Regions from separate parts of the Homo sapiens genome. Here regions 2, 3, 4 and 5 are each linked to region 1. The links are contacts of gene promoters, found by promoter capture Hi-C in blood cells and fetal thymus (Javierre and others, 2016). All regions are on one chromosome and are shown on one strand. Each heading gives the region's core, a stretch centred on a gene start or on the middle of the fragment in contact. The rest is flanking DNA. Distances are from core to core; before and after follow the strand shown.

Region 1 (3,161 bases), core at 460-2,959:
ACGGGAATTAGGCTGCATTGATGCGTTCCGGCTGGTTTGCAGGCACCACCCTAGAGTGGGGGAGCCTTGGCGCTGAGACTCTGTCTCAGAGGGCAGCCTTGCCCCCCACTCCATGCCAAGCAACCAAGAAAACATTGAACCCTTACTCCTGCTAGATGCCATGCCCTCCATGCAGGTTACTTCTCCCATTGTCCTATTCCCTTTTACAGAAGCAGTTATTATCTCGCAAAACAAATTATCTTTGCTTTTTAATCAGTTATAATCTGTTGCTGTTGTTATTGCAAAGATGTTGCCAAGGATAAAAGCCCATGCAGATGCTTCGGGTTTGGGCAATCTTATTCCTGCGCACTGCTTCCCCAGACCCCTAAGCTTCCCCCTCCATTTCTCACAATTCCATTCAGGGCTCAGAGCAGGTGACTGCAGCGATTTGGTTCCAATAAAATCGAAAGTAAACGTCTCCTGTGAAAAGTCCCGGGCTGTAAATTAGAAATGTTTATGCTGATTTCCCATTGTATGGAAAAAGCTCCTGGGCGAAACAGCTTTGAGCCCGAGAACGATTTAAAAAGCTGGAGCTGTGTACACAGCTCTGAGCGTTTGAAGTTGTTTAACCATTGTGTGACCAGAAAGAAGAGTGACGCGGCAGGAAGAAGAAGCCGGGTCTTGGGGAGAGCGGAGGCGGGTCAGGGTGGGCAAAGGCAGCCGATGCCAGGAATACAACCGCCCTTCGCGCCGTTCCAAACTAAGAGATGGCAGCGGTTTCCCAGCGCACTGCTGGAAGTGTGCTCCAGTAGACAGGGTGTGGGCAAGATGCGCGGGCAGACAGTCCGCACTCGCCACATGTGCTGGGGTGCGAGATCTAGATCTGCGCCATCTCGGCTTTCATTCCCCATTCCCTGTCTCTGTTCGTAACGCTCAGAGACTGTTTTTCCTCTTTTACATCCACGGCCCTGTCATTTGAAGGAAAGGGCTGGTTGGCCAGCATCTACCGAACAAAGACTGGGCGTCGTAGGCAGCACCAAAATTAAGACTATTTGAGAAACTTAGAGAAAACCGAGGGACAGCGATGGGTCTAGGGCTGGATAAGGAATAATGAGCCCTTCTCCTCCCTCCCCACAGACGCCTCCTTCACGCGGGAACCCGGTCCTCCTTCTTCCGACGCAGAGAGAGAAGCGATTCCACAGGTGGAAAATCTGAGACCGGCTGGAGGGAGGTTCGGGGGTGCACGGCACTGAGCTGACAGGGCTGACTGGAGACAGCATACTTTTGGGGTGTAAGGGCGATAATAGAAAGAAGGGGACCAGGACCAAGTGGACAGAGGATATGAGGGTGTGCGCCCATGGGGATCTGTAGAAGAGAGGCCGCGGGGGTGCAAAATCAGTAAGGTGAACGGGCTGATGGCCAATGCAAAGCCAAAGGGGAGTAAGAAATAAAGAGAAAGGAAAGAATATTAAATCGCGGGAGAATGAGAAAATAAACCCGCAAAAGGGAGAGGAGGGGGCGAGGGCGCCTGTTACGGCGTGGGTGGGGTTGACAAGAATAGAGTACATTATGCAGTTCATTTAGTTAACAAGTGAAATAATGAGGAAGCGTGCAGAGTGAATGCCAAGAGAAAAGGCACAAAAACCCTATTGAGAGGCCCCGGCCGCTCCTGGCGTAGTCCATCACATGGCAATAGTCCTATTTAAGCCGCGCCGCCGGCGCCTTTCAGCACCACTAGCGCTGGCCAGCACCCCGCGCTCTTTGGGCGGTGCCCACGGCAGCAGAGGCTACTGTTTCAGCCTAGGTCTCAGCCGCGCGTTCAGCCTCCTGGGCAGAGGCAGCTGCGGGATACCGCGGCCAGGGAAAGCGCGTGGAGAGCCGAAAGGTGCGGTGGGCGCAGAGGGCGGGCTGGCTGCGGGGCGACCGCGCGCCGGGGCCATGCCGCGCTCCTTCCTGGTGGACTCGCTAGTGCTGCGCGAGGCGGGCGAGAAGAAGGCGCCCGAGGGCAGCCCGCCGCCGCTCTTCCCCTACGCTGTGCCCCCGCCGCACGCGCTGCACGGTCTCTCGCCTGGCGCCTGCCACGCGCGCAAGGCTGGGCTGCTGTGCGTGTGCCCGCTCTGCGTCACCGCCTCGCAGCTGCATGGGCCCCCCGGGCCGCCCGCGCTGCCTCTACTCAAGGCTTCCTTCCCACCCTTCGGCTCGCAGTACTGCCACGCGCCCCTGGGCCGCCAGCACTCTGCTGTGTCGCCCGGGGTCGCTCACGGCCCGGCCGCCGCTGCTGCTGCCGCCGCGCTCTACCAGACCTCCTACCCGCTGCCTGACCCCAGGCAGTTCCACTGCATCTCTGTGGGTAAGCGGGGCCGCCGCGCAGAGGGACCGGGCAGAGGTGATCCGAAGCAGGATGGAGAGCCAGAGATGGAGGAAGAGGGACCCTGGGCTTTCTGGGGGCGGTGAGGGTCATGTCGGGGACTAAGGGGGGCGCTTGGGGTGGAGTGAGGATAGAGGGCCGGGACACAACGCCAGGAGGCGGATGAGGGCAGACGTCCAGGTCCTGGAGTGTGGGCCGGGGTAAGTGAGGGCTGGGATCCAAGGCTCTCCATGAAGGGGAAGGGGTTCCAGGGCTGCATGACTCCGGGAGAATCAGGATCTCGGAGCTGGACAAGGAGCGCTCACTGTAGCTCTGCTGTGGATTGTGTTGGGGCGAAGAGATGGGTAAGAGGTCAAAGTCGTAGGATTCTGGCGACCGCCTACCAAGGGATTGGGTCCACAGCACAGAGGTCTGATCGCTTCCTTCTCTGCTCTGCCACCTCCAGACAGCAGCTCTAACCAGCTGCCCAGCAGCAAGAGGATGCGCACGGCTTTCACCAGCACGCAGCTGCTAGAGCTGGAGCGCGAGTTCGCTTCTAATATGTACCTGTCCCGCCTACGTCGCATCGAGATCGCGACCTACCTGAATCTGTCCGAGAAGCAGGTGAAGATCTGGTTTCAGAACCGCCGAGTGAAGCACAAGAAGGAGGGCAAGGGCAGCAACCATCGTGGCGGCGGCGGCGGGGGTGCCGGTGGTGGCGGGAGCGCACCGCAAGGCTGCAAGTGCGCATCGCTCTCCTCAGCCAAGTGCTCCGAGGATGACGACGAATTGCCCATGTCTCCGTCCTCCTCAGGGAAGGACGACCGGGATCTTA
Region 2 (3,161 bases), core at 255-2,754, 390 kb before region 1:
GATCCAAACTTGTAAAATACTTCTCATTAGCATCGAGAGTATTTATTGAATATCCAGTTTTCATTTTTGTTGTGTGCTGGGCCCAGCAGTAAAGGCGACGTTTTGTCTTTGAGTATAGTGGGGAGCCATGTGACCAAAAAGTGGAAACACGTTTGGCTGAACCCATGACTCATGTCCTAGGAGATGCTGTCAATGCCAGCTCCTGTAGGTGACATCTCAGCTACATTGCCCCACATTTCTGGATTGGGCAAATGTGACAGAAATGTCCAGTTTCTGTTAAAGTTTTTTCCTGTGTTTTTATTAATTTAGGCTGGTGTTGCTATAACATATAACTTTATCCTCAGATATTGAAATTTGGCCAAAATATAGATGGGACTATTTAAACAAGATTTTTATTTCAACTATTTTAGTCACTTGCCCATATGTATTTTTGGCATACATTCAGAGAATCATTTTCCACTTTAGGTTAAGCACTATTTAGTCAGTAACTTGTTGAATGAATGATATTCTAGATTCACAGGTAGTCTCCTCAAAATGCTGCTACGAGAGCTGTCATTTTATTCAGGAAGGGGGTCCAGGAAGGGGTCACGTCTCATCCTCCTCATCCACTAGTCTCAGGACTTCCAGTTTTTAAGACAAATGTACTCATTGTGGCCCAACAGGAGACACCTGCCTAAGCTTGTAAAAGAGTCTTGTTCAAATAACCAGTTTTATATTCTTGGCCCATTGGAGAACTCTGCCGCCACCTGGGCTGGTGCAGGGATGAAGGACTGAAGCATATTCCCGATAAAGTATGCTCACCTGTCTTGTCTTACTGGGCTCACAGCCTCCCCAGAAACAGGGGAGAAGTGACTGTTCTGTTAGGATACCCATAAAACACACATGGGTAGGGAGGTGCCGAGGAAGCAGACCCCAGAAAGCAGGATTCAGTGAGCCACTGGGAGGTGTAGGCAAATCTCAAAATCCATCAGTCCATTGCTCCCTGCACCCTGGTCACTACCAAAATGGGTCAAGTTGAGAGCTAGGTTTACTAGAAACAAAGGAACATTTAAAACTCATCAATGAAGCCCAGCCGGCAAGAAATGCAGAAGCATTTCAAAAACCAAAATGCATTTCCTGTTAAAAGACCTTTTCCTTAAAGCAGTTGTGTCAAGGCACCATCTGGGCACAAAGACACGAGTCTATTTGGAAGTACACAAAGGCTATCAGTGTCGATGTTATTCAGACTGTGAGTAACAGTTCCATTCCTGCCAATGCTGTCTTCATTCTTCCTTCTCCAGGTAGGTCCCTCTTGGAAACCAAACTGGTGGATCTCAAAAGGTTGCCGTTTCCCCTGACTTAAAGAAAGGAAGTTAGGCCTCTGCCCACTTTGTTCGGGCTTCTTAAGTCAAGAATTGTTTGTTGGTTTGTTGTTGTTCAACTTATTATTAAATATTATTGAATAGATGGTGCTTATTTAAATATATTTTTTCTGTAGCATTTTCCAAAGGGCAGATTTTTAGCACTCAAAACTTCAAGATGGCTTCCAAATTTATATAGGCATTTTTATCTCAAGGAGATCCCAGATGAGAGCTCCTCTGAGAAAAGAATATTTTCAAAGTCTTTATTTCCTTACTGAAATAACCTGGGGTAGGAATTGGAACCTGGAACAGGTCAGAAACAGCCCTTAATGGAAGCAGGGCAAGGAAACAGGGCCCGTCCACCTCCAGCACCCTCACTCATTCCAACAAAAAAGTGGAAGCAAAAGATGGAAGGAATGTTTTTGTCTTATTTCTAAATGAATGGATCCTTTTTGAAAGAAATTCAGATCCGCTGTCATTAAAAATCAGATAACATGGGCCAGGCACAGTGGCTCATGCCTGTAATCCCAGCATTTTGGGAGGCTGAGGCGGGTGGATCACCTGAGGTCAGGAGTTCAGGACCAGCCTGGCCAATATGGTGAAACCCCGACTCTACTAAAAATACAAAACTTACCCAGGTGTTGAGAGGTGAAGATAGCTGGACTTCCTGGGTTGAGTGGGGACTTGGAGAACTTTTCCGTCTTACAAGAGGATTGTAAAATGCACCAATCAGCATAGGCAGGATTGTAAAACACACTAATCACTGCTCTGTAGCTACCTAGAGGTTTGTAAAATGCACCAATCAGTGCTCTGTAAAAACGCACCAATCAGTGCTCTTTGGCTAGCTAGAGGTTTGTAAAATAAACCAATCAACACTCTGTAAAATGGACCAATCAGCAGGATGTGGGCAGGGACAAATAAGAGCATAAAAGCTGGCCACTCCCCTCCCCGCCAGCCGCGGCAACCTGCTCCGGTCCCTTTTGATGCTTTGGAAGCTTTGTTTTTTGGCTTTTCACAATAAATCTTGCTGCTGCTCACTCTTTGGGTCCCTGCCACCTTTAAGATCTGTAACACTCGCTGCGTCTGCAGCTTCATTCTTGAAGTCAGCAATACCAGGAGCCCACCAGAAGGAAGAAACTCCAACTCTGGACACAGTGTGGTGGTGGATACCTGTAATTCCAGCCACCGGGGAGGCAGGAGAATTGCTTGAACCCAGGAGGCGGAGGTTGCAGTGAGCCAAGATCAAGCCACTGCACTCCAGCCTGGACGACAGAGCGAGACCCTGTCTCAAAAAAAAAAAAGCATGAAAAAAAAAAAACTTTAAAAATCCACATTTGGCCAATAAAAGGACTCATACAGTTACTAGCATGGAGGAAAAAAGCATTTTTAGTCATTGGATCGGTATCATAAAATGTATAAATCATGTATACATGTCCTTGGAAATGTCCTTTGGTATTGGAATTTGAGTTTTATGATCTGCTTATAACTAAAGTTTCTGGTTAAGTTTTTAAGGGAGAGAAAATGAAAAGCTTTCAAAGCCAACACCTTGTTTCTCAGGACATACCCCAGGGCAGAGTTTTATGACTGCACTAGGCTTTTAGTCACTGGCTGGCACTTTCCTCCTAATTCTCAAAATGCTTCCAGCACTTCCTCTTTATGGTGGGGCTGGGCTTCCGGCACCTCCAGAAGTGCAGACTTGCCCAGCCCATCTTGGCTGTAGACAGACTGCTTAGCCACAGCTCGGCCCAGAGTGGGACACCCTCAGTGACTGTGCCAAGGGGAGTAGGAATGGGAAACAAGGAAAAACCAGGCTTTCCTAAA
Region 3 (3,161 bases), core at 1-2,500, 370 kb before region 1:
GAACTGGCGCAAGAGAAACCATTTTAGAATTCCGGAGTTGTGGGAGGGATGAGTGTAGAATTCTCCCATCCATGGACAGGGGCTAGAGTGGCAAATGAAGAAAGCAACAGGTGGACCCAAGGCATAGACACTCTCACAGCCCCGTTATCTTGAGACGGAGGATGACACAGGCGTTATCAACTTTCCCACTTTCAAGATGAGCAGACTGAGGCAAAGGAGTGTTTATGAACTGGAATACTCAGTTCATAAGCACTGATGTTAAGCCCTGGCTTGTTTCCAGAACTGCACTGCTGTGCAGGGACCTGTTCATCACATTCCGACAAGGGCTTAATGATTCGGAATAATGCAGGATGTGAAAAATATGGATCTGGCGAACATCCCCCAAGTCATCCTGCCAGTTATCTGTATCCAAGGACATTTTTTAGGCATGTGGTCCTCATAAACTAAGATACTCATATTCATTCAGGCCTCTCAAAAGTGCTTCTCAGGTTTTGATATGCACTGAATCACCTGGAGATTTGTTTCAAGTAGGTCATCAAGGCTCTAGGGCAGTGTTCCCAAACTTTTCCTTTTTTTTTTTTTTTTTTTCCAACCACCTGGTCAGTTTGCCGGGGTGGGGAAGGGTAGGATGGGGAGACATCTGTATTTATTCTTTTAGAGCTCGGGGTCTCACTCTGGGCTCAAGCGATTCGCCCGCGTACCTGGGACTACAGGTGCGCACTACTGTGCCAGGATAGTGGTTCCCAAACTTTTCTGCGCATTGAAATCACCTAGGAAGTTTCCAAAAATACTGATGCCTGTTTCCTACCCCCAGAAATTGTGATTTAAGTGGTCCAAGTATCCTCTAGGCTTCGGGATTTTGTAAAGCTCTCCACGTGAATCTGAGCTTAGGAACCTCTGAACTGGGGCTTGCAGCAGAAGCACGTAAAGCACGCAAAGAAACGAAACCACACAGGTCACACTAGTAATGTGGCAACAGGCTAACTTAAATTATGTAAGGCTAGTGCTTTCCAGAGTGTACTGGAGGACGGGAAACAAGCCCCATTTAAGCAGTGCCTCGGGATTTGAGTTGCCTGTGAAACGCAGCAGCCTTCTGCCGAGGACGCAGAAACCCCCGCCTCTCATCCAGGGCTGACAGGGCACGGGCCGCGAGCCGCGGCGGGGCCTCCTGGCGCATGCGCGATCTCCCGGAGCATGCGCAGCAGCGGCGCCGACGCGGGGCGGTGCCTGGTGACCGCGCGCGCTCCCGGAAGTGTGCCGGCGTCGCGCGAAGGTTCAGCAGGGAGCCGTGGGCCGGGCGCGCCGGTTCCCGGCACGTGTCTCGGCACGTGGCAGCGCGCCTGGCCCTGGGCTTGGAGGCGCCGGCGCCCTGGATCCGCCGGCCGTGGTCGCCGAGTCGGTGTCGTCCTTGACCATCGCCGACGCGTTCATTGCAGCCGGCGAGAGCTCAGCTCCGACCCCGCCGCGCCCCGCGCTTCCCAGGAGGTTCATCTGCTCCTTCCCTGACTGCAGCGCCAATTACAGCAAAGCCTGGAAGCTTGACGCGCACCTGTGCAAGCACACGGGGGAGGTGAGGGGGGCGAGGCTGCCAACCCTGGGCCTAGGGATGGCGCGTGGCCCCGGGGTAGCCACTGCAGTCGTGGCCAGGGCCGCAGGCCCCGCTGTGCAGCGCGTTCAGCTTTGACATCCAGGACTTGGGGAAGGAGCTGAGGAAGTAGACAGGAAGTTGTAGGACCTTCGTTCTGCGACCTTGATATCCATGGCAGGGGCTCGGGATTTACTAAGCAGTCATTGATCGTGAGTCTCGGCCAGCCAAGTGCCTCCCGTAATCTGCAAATAAGTGTGAGGTTTGAGGGGGCCCACCGCTACTAGACACCTGCCAAACACTGGCCCCTGGAGCTGGTACAGAAGATGGGTTACATGTACCAGGGGTCGTGAAAGCAGCATGTGCTCATTTCTTCGTAACTCCACACTGGAGAGAGCAGTGAGCAAAACAGGCAAACCCAAGGTTTCTGCTGCCATGGACCTTTGTTCCTGGGTCGAGCCGACCACAGGATAGGTGGGAATGACATGCAGTGTTGTGGTCAGGAAAGGCCTCTCTGTGTGAGCCGTGTAAGAAGGAAGGATCTAGCCATGCAGACATTTGTGCTAGGTAGAGAGAACACAAAGGGAGCCTGTGACCCTTGGGGTGGGAGGCAGGTGGGTGTGTTTGGGTGCGGAGATCACCATATGAGGTCTGAGAAGTAGGCCCATTAGGAGTTTGGATTTTATTTTGAGGGCAGGAGAATGTCAGATACCATGATATGACGTGGCAGCCCATGTCACACACAAGTGAGGAAAACGAGGGTCATGGAGGTCAAGGAATCTGCCCAGCTTCCCAGTTTTTGGCAGAGCTAGGCTTCACACTGCCTCAGCTTAAAGCCCTTAATTTCTTAAACCACTGGGCTGCAGTCCATACCTTTGCCCCTTGCACCTCCTCTAATTTATGGGCCACCTTCTCCAGGTGTCCTCCGGGGCCTCATTCCTTAACCTCTCCAGCACTGGAAGGCCGACCGCTTCTTCCTTGAGACCTTCTCTGGTTCTTTTCCTCTTCCTCGTCTGCCCTTTTCGTTGGATCCTCTTCTGCCCTCTGCATGTTCCACCCCGCCCAGCTCCCTCTTGCGGTCTTACATAGCCACCGGCATGACTCATAACATCCTTTATGCTTTGCCCCTCTGCCCTTCCTCTTGCCCGTTCTAGCCTCTAAATTCTGGGCTCTGTATTACCAGTAGATCCACGTAAGAGCTTGCCTTTCCTTTTAGACCGGTGTGCTGTATTTTGGATACTGGCGCTACCAGTTTCCTTAATACAGGTTGAAAAACTTGGAGTCATCTTTGTTGTCCCAGATCTCTCATGCAGATTAATTTGACAAATGTTTATTGAGCCTACTCCACGCCTGCCGCTGTGCAAGGTTCTGTGGCTCCGCCCCTGGTGGTATGTAGCTCACTGTGTTCCTGTTTGCTTGTTTTGCTCCTAGTACTCTCATGGAGGCCTCGGTGCCTCCCTCCTGGACGCCTTGGTAGTATGCTTTTCATAGTTTGATGCACCAAACTGGTTATTTGGTTATTTGGGGTGTGTGTTTGGCTTTTACTATAGGTTCAAAATGAGTCACCCCCTCCCAA
Region 4 (3,161 bases), core at 290-2,789, 340 kb before region 1:
GCTGACCCCTCGGTCGACTCGGGGCCTCCTGATGGGGTAGCAGGAAGGCTGGGCCTTTGTGTGCTACAGAGAACGCTTTTCCAATAACTGGGCTAGTTCTCTCCAGCAGCCACAGGAAACAGAAGAAAGAAGAGGTTAAGGGCCGCCACGAGGGTCAGAATGGGTTAAATTTAGTTAACATCAGAGGTTATAGCTTTTAACAAGAGCTTCAAGAAAACTTATTCGAAGATGCAATTTGTTTCTTCTTTGTCCACTGTTATTTTTTTCCCCCTATTGATAGTGACAGCTTAACAAAGTTTTTATATGCTAAAGGTTTTCATCCCTTAGAGAATAAAGAACTGTGTTCCTAAAAAGAGATGCAGGTGGAAAACTTCATAAAGCTTCCATGATTTCCAAATTGGGAGCTTTGAAATAGGCTCCCTGCTTGGCTAAGTCAAAAATAATCTGTGAAAAAAAAACCTCTATTGGAAATGGAGGAACGCTCCAGCAGTCAGATGCAGAGCTCCAACTTCTAGAAGATTCTTTGTGTGAATTTTTCTCTCGGCCATCCTAGTAAACTTTTCCCAGTTATTCAAAATTATCAAAGCGGCCTTCTCTGTAGGTGCATTTCTTCAAATTTAGAACATAATACTGGGCAGGACTAGTTGTTTATTGCATTTCTATGTAAGCAAAGAAAGATAGCCATAGATTTCTGCGTATGTCCTTTATGCCCGCTCTTAAAATTCTGTTACTCTGCAGTTTCTGTTCAAGAACTGAACTGTTACGGAAATTGGGCTTTCAAAAGAGAGTCATGTAAATTCTAGCGCTTCAACTGGAAATGTATGATTACCTAGGACTGATACTCAGTGTCGCGCATCATACTAAGGCCTTATGTGTTTTTCAGCTGCATTTCTCTGATAAATACGAGGCTTAGCTTTTGAATGAGTTTAATCATTTATTTAGCTGAGATTTTCAAATGCTGAACTTGGGTTTTCAGAGCCATGTTTCTACCTGACGGTCAGCAAGGAAAATGTAATCTACACATCTAAGTGCTGAACTATAATCTGCATTTGAAAATGTGTTTGTTTCAGGTATGGTGAGGACTCATTTAAGTATTATTTGGGAAATAAGATGTTTTATATAAGGCAATCTTCCAGATACCCTAAGCTTACCTCTCAAATCAATACAAACTTCTATATTTTTACCATTATGAATGAAAGTATTTTATATAATGTATTACAAACATTCTTGCTTTCTGAAGTATGGTATGATATTTTTTAAGAACTAGGAGTATCAGTCCAGGCATGATGGCTCAATGCCTGTAATCCCAGCAATTTGAGAGGCCGAGGCAGGCAGATCATTTGAGGTCAGAAGTTCAAGCCCAGCCTGACCAACATGGTGAAACCCCATCTCTACTAAAAATACCAAAAAATTAGCCAGACCTGGTGGCGCATGCCTGTAGCCCCAGCTACTCAGGAGGCTGAGGCAGGAGAATGGCATGAACCTGGGAGGCGGAGGTTGCGGTGAGCCGAGATTGTGCCACTGCACTCCAGCCTGGGCAACAGAGCGAAACTCCATCTCAAAAAAAAAAAAAAAAAAAAGAACTGGGAGTATCATGATTGTACATTATGATATGGTGACATACAACACTTCATACGTGTATTAAGTGCCACTAACTACATGGCCAAACCATCATGGTTTCTGAATTTGAAATTCTGCTTTTTATAGATTTTCCTACCCCTCCCTTGCCATTAGGCTGTCATCTGGCCCTTCTTGTTGCTATAACTGCCTACCCAGTTTTAATAGTTCTCCTCCCCTTCTAACGTTCTACTCAAAGTCAAATTCAGTCTCACCTGGCCTGATACAGGTATTGCCCAAAGAGTCTTCCAGCTTTCCATCTTGCCTTGATCCAAATCAGCCCCCACGCCACTGCCAGGATAACTTTGTCTTAGTAAAGCTTCATGCATACTATCTCCTTGAAAAAAAAAACAAAAAACAAAACTTTGGTGGTTTTCCACGGCCTGCCTGCCCTATTGGATTGTGATTTTCCACTCTAGTATTGATTGCTGTCTGCAACAGATCTTTAGCTGTTGTAGTGAAACAAGTCAATTTCACTACAACACTCAGGCCTTTTTCTAAGAGTCTCTGTTCCTGCACACAGCCTCTGAAAGGGGCACCTTGCACCTAAATGTCCTGTGTCCCACCTCCTCCTCTTGTACATTGTGATGAGACTGGGATAGAAGCCTGGCCTATAGGAAACTAGTTCACAGACTATGACAGCTTGCGAATTTGCTCTGGGAAATTAGTGTTGTCAGAGGGCTTGGGGGGGTGTCAAAGGGTACTTGTGGCAGAGATCCTAGTCCAATAGCCATCTTCCTCTTTCCCAGGTTTTATGCACACATGGCTGCCCAGAATAAAAACAGTATGTTCAGCCTTTCTTACAGAAAGGTGTGATCATGGGACCAAGCTCTGGCCAGCAATTTATATGAGGCAGATAATGGTAAATCCTACTTTATGCCTGTTATCCACACAAGGATTTCAGTTTAGATGACATATTATATGGTCACCTTAAATAAACAGGCATGGTATGTGCAGCTTCCAGGGAGTCCTCTTCCCCTCTTCCTCCTTTCTGCTGGCTGGAAAGCAGACGCAACAGCGGAGCTTCGAAGTCATCCTGGAGCATCCCATCATGGTCTTTGAATTTGCTTTTTATAAGGGATCATGGAATGGAAATCCTGCACAGGAGTGCAGAGAGATGGAAGGCGCCTGGGGGCTCACACCATGGCACATCACACCAGCCAGAGGCTCATTACCTCTGAATTTCTTGAATGTGAGAGAGAAACACGCTCTTATACTGCAGTTGAACTTACTCCTAACCAACATAGTACTTGAACTAAAAAGTCTTATAAAGTTGTTTCTTTCACGATACAAGCCAATGCCTTGTGCGTGCTGGAGTTCTTCAAGCAGATGAGTTGGTCCGCAGAGAGGAGAATGAAATAGACATGGACAAAGAACCATGCACAAAGAGGGGCCTCATGAGAAATCGGGGAAGGAGACTTCCTTTCTACCTTTCTAATTCCAGTTTCAGTGGGGTCTACTGGTCTTTGTTTTCTGTCTGTAGATAACTCCTAGGTGGATTTGTTTTTTTTTACAACTTTCTGTTCATGGCAACCACACCTCTC
Region 5 (3,161 bases), core at 208-2,707, 310 kb before region 1:
TATAAAATAAAATCTTTTAATGTTTTTTCCTCTATAAAAATACCCTGGAAACTGATTAATTCTTAAGTAGTCATCAGGCAAATTTTTCAGAGGAATTAATTAACAGCTAGCTTAGAGCAAGGCATTGGAGAAATAGAACATGACATTAATATTCCAGGTTGAGGGAAAGATAGAGTGGTGACATGGAAGAGGAGAGGAGCTTGGCCATGCAGGATGATCTTACCAATGCCATGGCTTTCTTACTGGTGTTTATCTGGGACACACACATACACACAGCCTCTTCTTCTGCCATCTCCTAGTTCTGACACTCAGCCCTGAGCAGCCCTCAATCCAGCAGATGGAATACCTCCATGCCCAGGCTTTAAGGCCATAATCAAACTAATACTGTCTTAGTCTATTTTGTGCTGCTATACCAGAATACTTAAGAACATAAACTTTTTTCTCACAGCTCTGGAGGCTGAGTAGTCCAAGATCAAGACACTGTCATCTGGCAAGGGCCTTCTTGCTGAGTCCTCACGTGGCAGAAGACGGAAGAGTGAAAAAGAATCCAACTTCTGCTGTCAAGCCCTTTTAAAACAGTATTAATCTATTCAAAAGAGCAGAGCCCTTGTGACCCAAACACCTCCCAACACTGTTGCATCGAGATTAAGTTTCCAACATATGGATTTTGAGGGACACATTCAGATCATAGCAGATATTAGCAGTCAAGGTCCAACCAGGAAAATGAAAATATCTCCAAATATTTAAAATGAGGAAAATAAATTTAAGAATTGGCTTCATAAATGAAGGAAGAGCTAAGAGGCCAACAGGGACCATGAAGCCACTGAGAGATTAGTACCAGCAGGAAGCCACTCCATGCACTTGGACTGATCGTTTCTGGTAAACCCACGGCTAAAGAAACCACAGAGGGAGGGAAGGAATGTCCTGGTTTCTCCCTTCCTTCCTCTCGTCTTCTACCAGCACCTCCCATGCCAAACCCAGCTGGCAGCAGCTGCCCCTGAATCCCACTGTGATACCAAGCAGGGCAGGGGAAGGAGGAGTAACAGGTCTGAGGGCAGGGAAGCTACAGACTGGACACCACCTATCATTGGGTCAAAGAGCCTGGGAGCTGCCAGCTTGTCCCTTTCCCTCCCACCCTACTCCCCTGCCTGTTAGCAGGATGCACTTGAATCATGCCAGGTAATTTTTTCCTAGTCTATATCATCTTTGTGCCAGATCACAAAGATGAAAATATTACATTAGTTAAAAACGACCTCGTAGTCATTTTCATAAATGAGGGAACTGAAGTTTCAGAATGGCAGTCCCTCTCAGCCCTTGCTTCCAAGTTCCACCAAACTGAGAACAACTTCAGGGGCCAGAGAGGATCAGCTTTATAACTGAAGCTCATATGAAAACTAGTCTGCCCCTGGGCAAGGTAGGGGCTTTCTTCTCCCTTTCCCAAAGTCACCAACTGAAAGTCCTGAATGTCAGCAGGCCGAGAAGCAGGAAGGGGAAATCCTCTAACTCAGGAGGGGCGTCCCCAAGAGCATATAGACCCAAGGAATAGGAGAGGAGGGCTGGGGCTGGAGTTGCTTTTTGGGCACAGTGATCTTACCTCTGCCACTGTGGTCCAATAGACAGAAGGTCTTGCTAATTAGATTACTATCTCTCCCTTGTAGGGGACTGCTATGCTTTGAATGTCCATCCCATCCAAAATTCATGTTGAAATTTAATCCTCAAAGGGGCAGTATTGAGAGGTGGGGCCTTCACGAGATGACTGGATCATGAGAGGGCTCTACCCTCATGAATGGATTAATCTATTCGTGGACTAGTGAATTAATGAGTTATGATAATAGGACTGACTGCTTTACAGGAAGTGGAAGAGAGACCTGAACTAGCATGTGAGCTTGCTCAGCCCCTCACATGTGATGCCCTGCACTGCCTGGGGATTCTGCAGAGAATCCCCACCAGCAGGAAGGCCCTCACCAGATGCAGCCCCTCGACCTTGACCTTCTAAACCTTCATGACTGTAAAAAAGAAATTTTTTTTCTTTATAAATTACCCAGCTTCAGGTATTCTGTTATAAGCAACAGAAAACAGATTAGGACAAGGAGTGAAAAAAGAGGTGAGGCATCCAAAGCTCCCTTTATATTTCCCTGAGTGGTACAAATGTACATAGAAGATCCTATTTTATGAGCCAAGGCAGGAATTAAAGAAATGAAACAGGAGGGAGGCCTCCTCCCACCCACACCTCCACCCTCAACTGTGAAGATAACTTGGGGCATTTGGGGGCTCCCTCAGCATTGAAGTTGTAGTCATGATAGAAAAAAAGGCTACCTGGGGCAAACGGAGTAGGACAAAATAAACCCACCCATACCTGACAACGAGAGATAAACAGATGAGAGATAATCTGTTTATCTCTCATAAACCTCATTTAGCCTCATGTTTACATTTATTTCCAGTTCCTCAGATGGTCCTATTTTTGATAGGTAAATGTAATACAAAGGGATCATACATATGTATAGTTTTAAATTCTGCTTTAAAAAATAACATTATGTTATATATTGTATATTAGTAAGTATTATTCTAAAACATTATATTGGTAGGTTTATAGCAGGTCATCGAATGGCTGCTCAAAATTTAAATGTAGATTGTAAGACTTGCTCTACACAGTGTAAAAATATGGTCATACCTCTGCTATTAAAGCCGCAATTACTTTTGCACCAACTTGTCTTTTTGTTTCCTGTTTTGTTTTGTTTTTGAGACAGAGTCTTGCCCTGTCGCCCTGGCTGGGGTGCAGTGGCACGACCTTGGGTCACTGCAACCACCACCTCCCAGGTTCAAGCAATTCTCCTACCTCAGCCTCCTGAGTGGCTGGGACTACAGGCATGCACCGCCACGCTCGGCTAGTTTTTTGTATTTTTAGTAGAAACGGGGTTTCCCCATGTTGGCCAGGCTGGTCTCGAACTCCTGACCTCAAGGGATCCATCCACCTCAGCCTCCCAAAGTGCTGGGATTACAGGCGTGACTCCACCGTGCCCAGCCTATATTCTTTTGAAATTAATTGCTGAAGCTTCCCAGGCCCTTTGAGCGGAAAGTCCAACTTGTCCCTCTCAAAATTCCCTGCATTTCACCCAAGTTGTCCAAGAATGCTGGATCCTTCCTCAGCCCGGAGAGGACTC

What was found. Contacts are between HindIII fragments. The CHiCAGO score rates a contact against its expected background, and 5 or more counts as called.
Region 2: a fragment that was not itself captured here is called in contact with the fragment with the promoter of GSX1 in region 1 in 1 of 17 cell types (naive B cells); the score reaches 5.6 in naive B cells.
Region 3: the fragment with the promoter of GTF3A here is called in contact with the fragment with the promoter of GSX1 in region 1 in 3 of 17 cell types (naive CD4 T cells, total B cells and fetal thymus); the score reaches 5.9 in naive CD4 T cells.
Region 4: a fragment that was not itself captured here is called in contact with the fragment with the promoter of GSX1 in region 1 in 1 of 17 cell types (endothelial precursors); the score reaches 5.0 in endothelial precursors.
Region 5: a contact is called between a fragment that was not itself captured here and the fragment with the promoter of GSX1 in region 1, in 1 of 17 cell types (erythroblasts). The highest score is 5.8, in erythroblasts.

Annotation. Positions count from the first base shown.
Region 1 is chr13:27,790,774-27,793,934 of GRCh38, forward strand. GSX1 (GS homeobox 1) reads left to right here and starts at 1,710. Exons shown (of 2, transcript NM_145657.3): 1 at 1,710-2,329; 2 at 2,793-3,161. The coding sequence starts at 1,918. RefSeq lists an enhancer at 1,637-2,440. The HindIII fragment of the contact is 6,142 bases long and covers 368-3,161 here.
Region 2 is chr13:27,398,394-27,401,554 of GRCh38, forward strand. No RefSeq gene overlaps it. Among named protein-coding and RNA genes, the nearest start is that of GTF3A, 25 kb to the right of the region's middle. The HindIII fragment of the contact is 1,657 bases long and covers 677-2,333 here.
Region 3 is chr13:27,423,369-27,426,529 of GRCh38, forward strand. GTF3A (general transcription factor IIIA) reads left to right here and starts at 1,251. Exons shown (of 9, transcript NM_002097.3): 1 at 1,251-1,570. The coding sequence starts at 1,370. RefSeq lists silencers at 1,076-1,345, 1,356-1,415, 1,516-1,595 and enhancers at 1,686-1,755, 2,706-2,925. The HindIII fragment of the contact is 2,756 bases long and covers 1-1,535 here.
Region 4 is chr13:27,455,748-27,458,908 of GRCh38, forward strand. No RefSeq gene overlaps it. Among named protein-coding and RNA genes, the nearest start is that of MTIF3, 6.8 kb to the left of the region's middle. RefSeq lists an enhancer at 1-25. The HindIII fragment of the contact is 790 bases long and covers 1,145-1,934 here.
Region 5 is chr13:27,478,735-27,481,895 of GRCh38, forward strand. No RefSeq gene overlaps it. Among named protein-coding and RNA genes, the nearest start is that of MTIF3, 30 kb to the left of the region's middle. The HindIII fragment of the contact is 3,186 bases long and covers 1-3,050 here.